Linked DNA regions of Homo sapiens: regions 1 and 2 are each linked to region 3. The links are contacts of gene promoters, found by promoter capture Hi-C in human tissues and cell types (Jung and others, 2019). All regions are on one chromosome and are shown on one strand. Each heading gives the region's core, a stretch centred on a gene start or on the middle of the fragment in contact. The rest is flanking DNA. Distances are from core to core; before and after follow the strand shown. Region 1 has its middle 38 kb from the start of ERH. Region 2 overlaps ERH (ERH mRNA splicing and mitosis factor). Region 3 holds the start of EXD2 (exonuclease 3'-5' domain containing 2).

What was found. Contacts are between HindIII fragments. The study calls those that stand out against the background at their distance.
Region 1: a fragment that was not itself captured here is called in contact with the fragment with the promoter of EXD2 in region 3 in 1 of the 25 tissues and cell types used here (IMR-90 fibroblasts).
Region 2: a fragment that was not itself captured here is called in contact with the fragment with the promoter of EXD2 in region 3 in 1 of the 25 tissues and cell types used here (IMR-90 fibroblasts).

The regions. Positions count from the first base shown.
Region 1 is chr14:69,358,112-69,362,389 of GRCh38, forward strand. It overlaps a transcript of GALNT16 not described here. Among named protein-coding and RNA genes, the nearest start is that of ERH, 38 kb to the right of the region's middle. RefSeq lists an enhancer at 2,836-2,915. The HindIII fragment of the contact is 6,134 bases long and covers 1-4,278 here.
Region 2 is chr14:69,383,859-69,388,438 of GRCh38, forward strand. It overlaps ERH (ERH mRNA splicing and mitosis factor), which reads right to left. Exons shown (of 4, transcript NM_004450.3): 3 at 3,105-3,225. It also overlaps a transcript of GALNT16 not described here. Among named protein-coding and RNA genes, the nearest start is that of ERH, 12 kb to the right of the region's middle. The HindIII fragment of the contact is 7,932 bases long and covers 1-4,580 here.
Region 3 is chr14:69,189,586-69,194,071 of GRCh38, forward strand. It overlaps EXD2 (exonuclease 3'-5' domain containing 2), which reads left to right and starts at 1,913. Exons shown (of 10, transcript NM_001193360.2): 1 at 1,913-2,006. The region is part of intron 3 of GALNT16-AS1 (GALNT16 and EXD2 antisense RNA 1); the gene reads right to left. RefSeq lists a silencer at 2,134-2,323. The HindIII fragment of the contact is 7,126 bases long and covers 1-3,488 here.

The sequences.
Region 1 (4,278 bases), core at 1,256-3,755, 170 kb after region 3:
TGGAGAGTCCCCAGCTGGGAGACCCTCAGTTGGATGGGAAACTAGGGATGGCAGGAGAGTCTGGGGGACTCTCTGGCAGGAGAACCAGGAGGTAAGAGTCTCTGGAGACAGTTGCTCTAGGGCCACCTCGATGGGGTCTCTGTCTGGGCCCCTCCCCACAGTTTGAGTCAGAGATGGCTCTCAGCATGGCAGGAGGCTTGCTCCTCTCCCCGTGGGTGGACTGCAGTTCCCACAACCCTGTCAGGCAGCTGCAGAGCTCCAGGTTTCTCTGCCCACAAGGGCAGGGGCTGCCCCTCGCCCAGGATGACTCTGCCTTCCAGAGCCTTGGCCTCCCTGGGGGTGGGAGTGTGGGGGATGCTAAGGTTAAATCAGGTCACAGTAAGTTGTGGGGGCAGCAGGTGGAGCAGCAGAGTGGCACTGGGAGCTTTCTCTTGGGTGTGCGGTGTGGCCTTGGTTCTGCAGCCATCAGGTGGGGGCTTGGGACTGACTTCTCCTTCTGAAGGATGCTGGGAAGGTGAGCTGGCTTTGGCAGTGCTTAGAGCTCCGGGGGGTTCCCCCTCCTAGAACATGCAAGCTCTCACACCGGTGCGTCATCATCACACCCATCATCAAGCCCACAGTGGTATACTGAACACCTGCCCCACAAAGACGGTGGAATGCTCTCAGAGGAGCCCCATGAACCACCGATGGTTACAACTATCCAATGCCTGATGGCAGACAGCCAGGCCAACCTCGGCTTCCACTCTCTCTTCCTCACCCTACAATCAGCCAAAGTGACCTGAGTCGTGTAGTGCGAAGTTGCTTTCTGCTTTCTCTTGTTTGTGCTTTTGCTGTTTCTTCTGCCCCATACTTTGTTAACTCCATGAGTTAAATGCTACCCATTTTCCCAGACAAGTGCTGCTTCTGCAAGGAAACCCTTCCTGATCCCCCACCTGTCTGAAAAGTACCTCTCCAGCTTGCTTCTTCAGGGTGCTGAGCGTTCCTTCCCAGCCTGTCATCACCTTCCTCCATACGCTATGGTGTGTTCCTGTCTTCTCTAGTCTTGTCCTCTTTTTTCTGTTAGATTGTAGCTCCTTGCTGACAGGAACCACGCCTGCTCCAGCTTCATACCTCCCACTGCTACAGCACAGAACCTGCTTCTCAGACTTACAGCAAATGTTTGTTTGCTGAATGAATTAATTAAAGATAAAGCATTCTAACTGGGTTTGTTTTTGTTTTGCTTTGTCTTTTAATGATAAAGCATTTTGGCATTTAGGAATTAGTACACTGCACATAGAAAGCACGCAATATACACTTGTCCATTTTTCGTCTCACTTCTTACAAGTTTGATGTTGCCACAACTCCACCCTCCCTATTCATTAGTTGTCTCAACAGCAATGTGTTGGTGATGCTGAGGACTGACACAGATTGAGCACTTTCTGGGTACCCAGAATCTTAGTAAGGCTACCATATGCACTCCAATGAGGTAGGTTCTCATACACTCACTTTATGGATGAGGAGGGGAGGCTCAGTTGAGAGAAGAAATTTGCCCAAGGATAAACAGCTAGGTTTAAACTCACTCTCACAGGAGCATGTGTCAATGGTCCCACAGACCAGCCCCTTCAGCTGGGAACTTATTAGAAATGTAAACTCTGGGCCAGACGCGGTGGCTCACGCCTGGAATTCCAGCACTTTGGGAGGCCGCGGTGGGCAATCACAAGGTCAGGAGATCGAGACCATCCTGGCTAATGTGGTGAAACCCCATCTCTACTAAAAATACAAAAAATTATCCAGGCGGGTGGCACACGCCTGTAGTCCCAGCTACTCGGGAGGCTGAGGCAGGAGAATCACTTGAACCCAGGAGGCAGAGGTTGCAGTGAGCCGAGATTGTGTCATTGCACTCCAGCCTGGCGACGGAGTGGGACTCTGTCTCAAAAATAAAATAAAATAAAATAAAGAAAAAAAGAAATGCAAACTCTTGGCCAGGCACAGCGATTCCTGCCTAGAATCCCAGCACTTTGGGAGGCTAAGGTAGGAGGACCACTTGAACTCAGGAGTTTGAAACCAGCCTGGGCAAAATAGTGAGACCTCATCTATACTATAAATTTAAAAATTAGCCAGGTGTGGTGGTGCATGCCTGTAGTCCCAGCTACTCAGAAGGCTGAGGCGGGAGGATCACTTGATCCCAGGAGGTTGAGGCTGCAGTGAGTTATGATTGCAGCACTGCACTTCCAGCCTGGGCAACAGAGCGAGACCCTATCTCAAAAAGAAAAAAAAAAAAAGAAGAGGCCGATTAGGAGACTGAGACAGGTGGATCACTTGAGGCCAGGAGTTCGAGACCAGCCTGGCCAACATGGTGAAACCACATCTCTACTAAAAATACAAAAATGAGCTGGGCATGATGCCCAGTGCCTGTAGTCCCAGCTATCTGGGAGGCCGAGGCAGGAGAATCCCTTGAACCCAGGAGGTGGAGGTTGCAGTGAGCTGAGCCTGGGAGACAGAGTGAGACTGTCTAAAAAAAAAAGAAGAAGAAGAAGGAGAAGAAAAGAGAAGAGAGGAGAGGAGAGAAGAATAGAAGAAAAAAAAGGAAAGAAAAAAGAAAAGAAAAGAAATGAAGAAATGCAAACCCTTGGGCCCCACTCAGACCTACTGAATCAGAAACTCTGGGGGTGGGGCCAGCCCTCTGAGTTTAACAAGCCTCTTGGGGATTCTGATGCATGCTCAGGTTTGAGAGCCACTGTTCTGGTGACTGAGATGGGTTCTGGTCCCCTGACGGGGCCACGTGTCACCACGTGGTGCAGAAGGCTCAGAGAGCTGGGTGCTGCGGGCCCTGCCCCTGCTAAGCAAGCTGCCTGCCACAGAGCTCTGGGCAGTGATGGATCACTCTGAGGCGGAGGGAGAGTGGGCACTGGGCTGGGCTGAGGGTTGCCACTGAACCAGCTGCCACATGCCAGCCTCGCTTTGCATGATTTATGAGTTTCTTCCCCAATACCAGCCACATATGGTTGACTTCATTCTAGAAGAGCTTCTGCCTCAGAAGATCTATTAATCAAGGAATCAGTGCTGCATCCTCCAGCCTGCAGGACAGGCATACATTTTACCGTGAGTTACATGGCAAAGCCCTTTCTATGAGTACTCCATTCAATGACATTTATAACTGGTCCTGTCAGTCACTGACCAAACACTGAGACACACATTTTATCTTCTTTGATCTTTACAACTCTATCAGGTAGGTATTTTCAATACCACCCCATTTACAAACTAGATATCAAAGCCCAGAGAAGTTAACATATCTGCCCAAGATTACCCAGCTGGCAGGATGGAGGGCCAGGATTTAAAATCATGAAGTCTGATCCAGGGTCCATGCTCCTTGCTGCTCCTTATTGCCTTTCACCCATCAGTCTGTATATTCATAGAACACTGACATGTTTGTACTGTTATCCCCATGTTGCACTTGAGGACACTGAGGCCCTGTGCAAAGCTCTAACAGGCTGAGAGCTTTTGTCCCCACATCCCGTATCCTTACATGGCTGATTCTTAGAATGGAGGTAGGATGAGCCAACGTTGGTTCCACAATCATCATTTTGCAGATGTAGAAACAGGATGAGAGGCTAAAGCACCTAAAGTCACAGGGGGCCCAGTGCGGTGGCTCACACCTGTAATCCCAGCACTTTGGGAGGCCGAGGCAGGTGGATCACCTGAGGTCAGGAGTTCAAGACCAGCCTGGCATGGATGGCGAAACTCCGTCTCTACTAAAAAAACAATAATTAGCCAGGTGTGGTGGCGCATGCCTATAATCCCAGCTCCTCAGGAGGCTGAGGCAGGAAAAATGCTTGAACCTGGGAGGCGGAGACTGCAGTAAGCCGAAATCACGCCACTGCACTCCAGCCTGGGTGACAGAATGAGACTCCATCTCAAAATAAATAAATAAATAATAAAGTCACAGGGCAGGAAATTGGGAGCACAGGACATGGTAGATCCAAGAATACAATGTCCCGTGATGTAGCTCTGGAGGCGATTGCGAATGGTCTGCCTTGGGGCCAGGCATCTTCTCTGGGGCTCGGGAGGGTGAGACCCCTGACTGAGCTGGCCTGAGGGCCCAGGGCTATGTCCAGCATGGCCTGTTTTCTCCCTGCCTCCTGGCCAGGGGTATTTGTTCCCAATGTCCTCCCGGCCTCAGGGTTCTCTGCTCTGCCTTATTTGTCCTCAGACATTCGTTTTGAGCTTGTTCAGACCCGTGTGTACTCTGCCTTGTGGCTTTGTCCACTTGAGGTGGAGGCTCCAGGGTGCTTTGTGGAG
Region 2 (4,580 bases), core at 365-2,864, 190 kb after region 3:
CTAATGCAGCCGGGCACAGTTGCTCATGCCTGTAATATCACTCCTTGGGGAGGCTGAGGAAGGAGGATCACTTGAGCCCAGGAGTTTGAGACCAGCCTGGGTAATATAGCAAGACCCTGTCTCTAAAATTTTTTTTTTATAAAGTCTAGTACAAAGTTAGAAAAGTTATGTTATGTCATTAATGACATACTTGTATATCATTAACATGTCACTTGTAACTGTTTTACTCTGCTCAATTTTCATATTGTTGAAAAAACCTCAACACCTTTTAAATCTCCCTTGAAATTTATAATTTATCTCACACGTAGACATTAAAATTCATATCATTCTACTCCTGGCAAATTTAAGAACATGCTTGTAATTAAAAATAAAACTCTATCCTGACTTCTTCAATCTAGTTGAAAAGGGAGTTGCTGCATATCTAATAATGCTGTGCTCAGCAAGCACTTGATCCTCACAAGGAGTCTTATGAACTAGATTTGTCTGAATTTTACAAATTAGCAAACTAAAGTTTAGCAATACAAAGCTGCCTTGTCAAAGGGAGCTAGCAAATGGTAGACCCAGGATTCAAACCCAGCTATGTCTAATTCTGCCACTCCAGCTAGCTCTTAACCACAGCCTCCCAAGACAAGTAAAACATGATCCTTTGCTTCAAGTTTACTTCCCACTTACTGGGAGTAAGTATGACATCCCAAAAGCGTCAGGATTACATCCTGAATGTTTCAGTAAGGTTCTTTTATAAAACCATAAAGACAACCATTAATTTTTAATCAATGCAGAATATAGCTCTGTAATATAAATAAGGGAAATAGAAAATTATCAATAATTTTAGAAAGCTATTCCTCAAATAACAACACAAGTGACGTGCATTTATATAACCAATATTTACTCAGCACTAATTATGTACCAGAGATGCAGCAGTGAACAAACACAAAGCAACTTCTTCTTAAATTCTATCAATTAATATACACATTATTGGTAATTTCATATCCAGTGGATGATTCTGTCAACACTTAGGCCTCCCAATTCCATGAAGTCTTTTCCTCTAATGATCTCATCTCCTACCCTCTCTTGGCCAGATCCCTAGACCTTGTCATTTCCAACTACTTCAATTTCCTAATTTCAAGCATGTCATTCTCTGATCACCACTTCCTAACACTCTAATGTGAGCAATCCTTGATCCAGTGGGACCTACAATGAACTGATCTACCTCTGTTTCCAGCACCTCCTCCTACACCCCCAATTAAAGCTCATGGTCATTCAGTCGTTGCTGTTGTCCTCATATATGCCCTCAACCTTTAGCAAAATCTTTACTCTCTACCTACTCCTCACCTGTAACCATCCAGGTGAGAGAGACTAGGAAAAAAATCCCATGATCACAATGACTGATTTCACTTTAAATCACTATCAGATAGGTACTTTGGAGGACACTTAATGCATCCCTGAATTAATTGCAGTTCCCTAATTCTTTCACCTTCCTAGCTTATTTCTTACTTTTCCACAAACCTGTAACACCTGTTTCAAATGATGTCCTTGCTCCTTATCTTTCTGAGATAACTGAAGCATACAGAAGATAATTCCCCCCAGCTCCCAAATTTGCCTGTCCTCCCTTTTTTATGATTGAACTGTCCAAGAGCCAATTTGAGCTATCAGTTTCTCCTTCTCTGGTACATCATCCCATCAGCCTGCAAACTTACCATTACTTTTCCCACTTAAAAAAAAGCAATTTCTTTCTCCAGCTACAACCCCATTTTTCTGTTCTTTCAAGCAAAATTCTTTAAATAAAAAAAAGGAAAAAAAAAAAAAAAGCAAGCCTGTAATGGCCACCTATAAATCCTCTCTTTTCATTCCCTTCCATACACTGAAATCTGTAAGCATTTTACTCCTGGCACTCTACCACAACCGTTCTGGAAGTCACCAAAGACTTCCACAGTGTCAAATCCAGGGGTCAATTAAATTCTCAGTCCTCACATATCTGTCCTATCAATGATATGACACACTTCTGCATTTGGCTTCCAGGATATCATTGCTCCCTGCTCCTCCAATCTCCTAAGACACTCTCCTTCACTCATTCCTCTGCAGCCTCAAAGGCTTCCTTAATGACTTCAAACATGCTAGGCACTCCTACTTCAGGACTTCTACACTAGCTGTCCCTCATCCCCTCTGTCTGGTATGTTTTTCCTATAGATGTCTGAATGGCTTAAAGTACCATGCAACATTCATTTGAATGTTCTGAGTGATCAAAGTGAAATGGCTACAACCGGAACACAATGAAGAGGTACAGAAAACAAAACTCAAACATCCCAAGGAAATGCGTGTTTTGGAACTTTTGGGGAGACAGCATGGTGCAGCCACATTCCATGATTGGCTCCAGTGGTGATCCAGGAAGTGCCTATGAGTAAGACTTGTATATTTCTCATCACTGCTCTTTCAACTTCTAGCACAGCACCTGACATGTAATAAATATTCAAGTATCTGATGATTGAGTATTGTATCATAAGGTGCTTCCATTTTCCTCGGTTAAATGAGCTGTATTTACACTCAATTTCTGTTCGCTAATGTAAAAAAGATTAGGTAAGTCTACAGTAACACTTTATGCTCCTTGTTAGTAATTGTCAGAAGCAGATTATCAATACAAACTATAACAAATATGTTAAAAAATCTCACTCTAACATACCAAAATATACGTACTTACACAGCGTAGGATTGAAATTAAATTTCAGCTATACGCATATTTAAGTTTTTGAAATGTCATGAAAAAAAGATAATCTTAGTTTTAATCCAAAACCAATGGCTTTAAGACAAAGACTGTAAAGGAAAAAAAAAATTAGGTATAAGGAACAAAGAAGAGGCACATGGAACTTCTGAATTAGGATCCTTTCTGGATACTAACTATATCAATTAGCAAAGTTATTTTTTTCTGTGCCTTTGGCTTTATGTTGCCAATCTCTTATTTCTGTAAGAGAAATATTAATTACTATACACTATGCAAATGCAAAGATCAGTATCAGGCACATAATTAGCTCCCAATACCATAAATCACCTCAAACAGACAGAAAAGCAATAGAAAATACAAGATAAAAGACATGTTGGCTAATACTTACACCAGGCAGCTGAGGTCTGCCAGATCATCGATGAAATCAAACAACTGACTGATGTCATATGTGATAGAGGGACTGTTGGGATTCATTCTTTTCAGATGTTCTTCATACATTTTACAAACACCTAAGAAAGGATAGGAAAAAAAGCAAAATCTTACAATCGCATACACTTCTAGATATGAGCAGTGCTTATGAGCTGTGCTATATGTTGATATCATATTTACTTTAATAAAGTTGGGCTGGGGAAAAGATGATAGATTGATGGCTTTTGATTATTGCCACTAGCAAATACTTTTTTATTTTATAAATTCACCAGGTCAGGTGTAGTGGCTTACGCCTGTAATCCCAGCTCTTTGGGAGGCTGAGGCAGGAGCATCACTTGAGCCCCACAGTTTAAGACCAGCCTGCCTGGGCAACACAGGGAGACCTCATCTCTACAAAAATTAAAAAATTAGCCAGGCGTGATGGCGTGTGCTTGTGGTCCCAGCTACCTGGGAAGCTGAGGTGGGAGAATCACTTGGCTGCAGTGAGCCGTGATTGCATCACTGCACTCCAGTCTGGGCAGCTGAGAAATTCACCACAATGTTGATGTAACTATTTTGTGTCTTAATAATAAAATGATTACTTCAAACCACTGGAGCTAAGGGGCTTTAAAGACTTGCCATCTGATGGCTCAAACAAATAACACTGTGGGTCTTAACAGGTTTTTCAGTAATTCTTCCTAAAGCCACAGAGCAAAAAAAAAAAAAAAATTGGCAACAAGGAAAGAGATTATCCTAATGTATATTTAAGATCCTAGACTAGGCCGGGCACAGTGGCTCACGCCTGTAATCCCAGCACTTTGGGAGGCCAAGGCGGGCGGATCACGAGGTCAGGAGATAGAGACCATCCTGGCCAACACAGTGAAACCCTGTCTCTACTAAAAAAATACAAAAAATTAGCCAGGCATGGTGGCAGGCACCTGTAGCCCCAGCTACTCGGGAGGCTGAAGCAGGAGAATGGCATGAACCTGGGAGGTGGAGATTGCAGTGAGCCGAGATCGGCCACTGCACTCCAGCCCGGGTGACAGAGCAAGACTCTGTCTCAAACAAACAAACAAACAAAAAATCCTAGACTATGGATTCAGACAGACTTTAGTTCCAACTCTGCCCCTGTCAAACCGAGGACAAACGACGCCATTCCCTGAACCACACCTGTCAAACAGAGTTAAGAGTGCCTCTTCATAGAATTGTGAGGTTTATTTGAAATAATACACATAAAGCATTAGCACATGAACAAGGATATAAGTACTTAAATATAATAAAAAAGATAATGAGCAAAATCATTAATAGCAAGCCCACATTACTAATTATAATTAGCTATAGAGTATATTATCTATTTAGTTTTTATTCAATAATACTCTCCTTTTTTTTTTCTTTGAGATGGAGTTTTGCTCTTGTTGCCCAGGCTGGAATGCAATGATGAGATCTTGGCTCACTG
Region 3 (4,486 bases), core at 663-3,162:
GAAACCAGAAAAGTGCTCACAAATATAACCTGAACACACATGTAAAGCCGCACTCAGATTAAGAAATAGAACATTATCAGCACTTCGTGAACCTCCTCATGTTCCCTTCCAGTTATTACTACCCTAAGATTAATCATTATATACAGTGACTTCTAATAGCAGGGATATTTGGGTAGTTTCCCGTTTGGGGCTGTTGAAAGTATGGGTATGAGCTTTTTTTTGTACATGTCCTTTTGGTGAATACATGCAGACATTTCAGTTGCATATATATAACTAGGAGTAAAATTGTTTTTTGTTGTTTTTGTTTTCGAGACAGGGTCTAGCTCTGTCACCTATGCTGGACTGCAGTGGTGTGATCACAACTCACTGCAGCCTCAAACTCCAGGGATCAAGACGTCCTCCTGCCTAAGCTTCTGGAGTAGCTGGGACTACAGGTGCACACCATGATGCCCAGCACTTTGGGAGGCCGAGGTGGGAGGATCGCTTGAGGCCAGGAGTTCAAGACCAGCCTGGGCAACACAGTGAAAATCCCTAAAGTGCTGGGATGACACGTTGAGCCACTGTGCCCCAGCTAGGGGTGAAATTGTTGGAACAAAGTCTTTTCACATATTCAGATTCAGTTGATACCGCCAAACAGTTAAACAAAGTGATTGCATCAATTTATGTTCCCTTCAGGAGCATATGAGAGTTGTGGTTGCTCCACAATCTTGCCAATACTTGACATTTTCTTTTTCATTTAGCTATATCTCATTGTGGTTTTAATTTGCATTTCCTCTTTATCCTTTGTTTTTTAAGTGTTTCAAGATGGAGCAGATAAAAATTCAGGGAGTTAATCCTCTATAATAGCTGGAAATTTCCCCCATGGGTACTCATTCAATGGAATTTAAAACATTTGCCCCTGTATTGAAGGCAATATAGTATAAAGGATGGGGCCACATGCTCTGCAATCAGAAATATGAGGTTTGATTCCTAACTCCGGTGCTTACTTGCTGAATTACCTTGAGGAAGTTATTTAACCTTTTTCTATTTTATGTAAAACGGCACTAATAATAGTACTGCCTCACAGGGTTGTTATGGGGATTAAAGGAGAAAAAATAAGTAAAATGCTTTGCAAAGTTCCTAGCAACAGGTGAGCACAAAGTCAACAAATGGTAGCTATTATTATACCTTATATTGGTTATTTATGCACATCTCATTTCTCCTTCTGTTTTACACATTCCATGAGAAAGGAAAAGCATGCATGTAGCACAGATTAACTGCCTCACATATAATTGCTAATAAAGACTGATTGGATGAACGATTTAATATATAAACAAAAAGTATTGTGGTTATCGCTATAAAAGATGGCATAGGTTGGGCATTCACGCCTGTAATCCCAGCACTTTGGGAGGCCGAGTTGTGAGGTTCGCTTGAGCCCAGGAGTTCGAGACCAGCCTAGGCAATGTAGGGAGACAGTATCTACAAAAAAAAAAAAAAAAAAAAAAAAGGAGGGTACATAAAATTATTATAGTGGCTATAGGATAATGTGCACTGCTAATGAAGACTACATTATTTAAATACAGTGTCTTTCCTTCTATTTACTGTTATCGTTTAGCAGAAAAACAGTACGCAGGATACTAAAGAAGGAAAATTCGATGTCCCATATTACATTTGTGAGAGTTCTGGAGGTTTCTCCCTTCAAAGCCAAAACCAAAACACAAACATACCATCCCAGTAACAAATGCGTCACTTTTCTGAAGAAGACGTTAAGCCCTTCCAATTTTAACAGATCCTTTGTTCAACAGAGGAGAGAGACTGGGTAGGCATCACCTGCCCCAGTAGCTTCCGTACAAAATGGCGTTGCCCGTTCCCACACGCCAGCTGGGATTACGTCCTCCAGGCCTGTCGCAGGAACGGAAGTGGTTACGGCCCTAGTGAATCCGGGTGGGTGCGCGCAGGCGGCCGCACAGGTTCCAGGTCTTTAACGTGAGCCCGCTGCAGGTGTGCGGCCCAGTCCGAGACAGCAGGTAAGTGAGGCTCAGAAGCCGGCGAAGCCTTGCACCAGGATTGTGCGCGGGGCAGGGGGTGCTTCCAGTGCAGACTAAGAGGGGTCGTGGAGCGGGGGGATATTACCGTGTACGGGGGTGACATTGCGGGGCCCCCGCTGTCCCGGAGCGAGTTGGCCCTGCCCCTCTCCCCGCCCCTCGGCGTGACCCCCTCGCCCCCGTCGCACACGGCGGGGCGGTTCAGCACCCAGGTGCGCAAGGAGGGCCTCACCCCTGCCCGCGGCCTCCCACGCCCTCCTTGGGCCTCTCCTTTCGACCCCCTTACCCTCTCCCTGGGAGACTCTACCAGACCTTCGAGGCTGCGTGTCCCAGTCAGCTAAAAAGGAGGCCCCGCCCGCGGCACCTGGTAGCTCCTCGGGCGCTGCGGGTTCGACGCGGCAACAGCTGCTGTTTTCTCTCCTGGATTCGTGTGAGCCGCCACCCTCGCTACCATCCCTGTCCTCCCAGACCACACCCTGCTCTGGGCCTTGCCGGGAGCCACCTCTTTGGCTTTTCACATCCCTGGGATGGATCAAAACTAAGAACCTTAATCATTATTTATTACAAAATTGACATCTGCTCCTTAAAATACAAACAAACCAATCCCCCGATAAGCTTTTGATATGATTCCAACATTCAAACTCCTTTATATACCCTCTCCTCAAAAACACAAAATTGAAATTATACTTTATTTTCTTAGTTCTGTTCCAAGGATAGAAGGAATTGAAAGGTTTTGTTAATCATAGGAATTAGGAAGTGCGGGTTGGGGCGCAGCGGGGAAGATGGATTAAATTTGGTCAAGTTGAGCTTGTTTTAAAAATGTATTTTTAAAATATTCTAGTTATAGTCCGTGCATAAAGCCTTGTAACAAAATTATGTAAAAATTTTAAACACAGATCTTTCTTAGCTTGATGTTCTTGGTGGTGAGGGTGGGGAGTGTGGAAGACAGATCCTCTTTGATTTTGTTTTTTTCCATCTCCACCTTCTTTACCAGTCCCTTTCCCACAAAATAAGAACTGTTGTCAGTTTGTGTGTATTTTTCTTTGCATTTATTTGACAAGTATGTGTACGTATAAGATATATGTTTGTAAGATTTCGCTTTAAACTTTTACAAATATGCATGTTTTATGCATTACACAACTTGACGTTTTATGCTTAAAAACGGGTCTTGGAATTTTTTCTTTGTCAGTACCTAGAGATCTACCTATTCTTTCTACTTGCTCTGTAAATTCCATGGTTATGTAAGATTCCATAGATTGTTTCCAGTTTTTCATTGTTAGACACAGTATGGCGGAGAACATCCTTCCCACACACCTCTGTGAGAGCCCATGTGAGAGCATTTCTCAAGGATGGGTACCTGCAGGTGGAATTGCTGGGTGGGAGAGTATGGGGATTTAGGAATGCCAAACTGCCACCCACGGTGGATAATAATTTCCTCCATTCTCTCTCTCTTTTTTTTTTTTTTTTGAGACAGAGTCTTGCTCTGTTGCCCAGGTTGGAGTGCAGTGGCGTGATCTCAGCTCACTGCAGCCTCTGCCTCCCAGGTTCAAGCGATTCTCCTGCCTCAGCCTCCCGAGTAGCTGGTATTACAGGCACCCGCTACCACGCCTGGCTAATTTTTGTATTTTTAGTAGAGACGGGGTTTCACCGTATTTGCCAGGCTGGTCTCAAACTCCTAAACTCGAGTGATCCGCCTGCCTTGGCCTCCCGAAGTGATGGGATTACAGGCGTGAGCCACCGTGTCTGGCCCACCATGCTCTTTTGATCATTTAATGGTATCGATCTTTTTTGTTTTTGCCAATCTGATGGATGGAAAAGTGATTTCTCTTTGCTGTTTTAATTTGCATTCCCCTGATTACTATTGAGATTGAACATCTTCATGATTGTCAGCCATTTGTATTTCCTCTTTTGAGAAACATCTCTTTCTATTGGATTGTCTTTTCCTTATTGATTTATAATAGTATTTTATATGTTCTGGATTTTGATCTTTTGTTATTCATATGTGTTTATAATATTTACTCCCTGCTTATTGCTTTTTTAAGTTGTTGCTTGTCTTTTAACTATATGGCATCTTTGTTGAAACAAAGTTTAAAATTTTAGGTTTTAATTTATCAGTCTGTTATGTGTGTGTTTGTATTTTGTGGCTATCATTCCCAATCCGAGTGGTTCTTAAATGGCAGAGATTTTTGCTCTCGGGGTTATTTGGCAATGTCTGTAAACATTTTTTGTTTGTTCCACTAGGATGGTGCTGCTATTGGTTATCTAGTGAGTAAAAGCGAGGGTGCTGCTAAACATCCTACAGCGCACGGGAAAGCTTCCCACAACAAAGAATTTCACCAGCCAAAAATGTCAGTTGTGCTGAAGTTGAAAAATCCTTCTCTACTTTTAGAGAGAGGAGGGTTTTCTCCTAAAGCTCTGTTTTCTCCTTGAAGTTCTTCTTGTGGGAATAGTTTTTTTTCTTT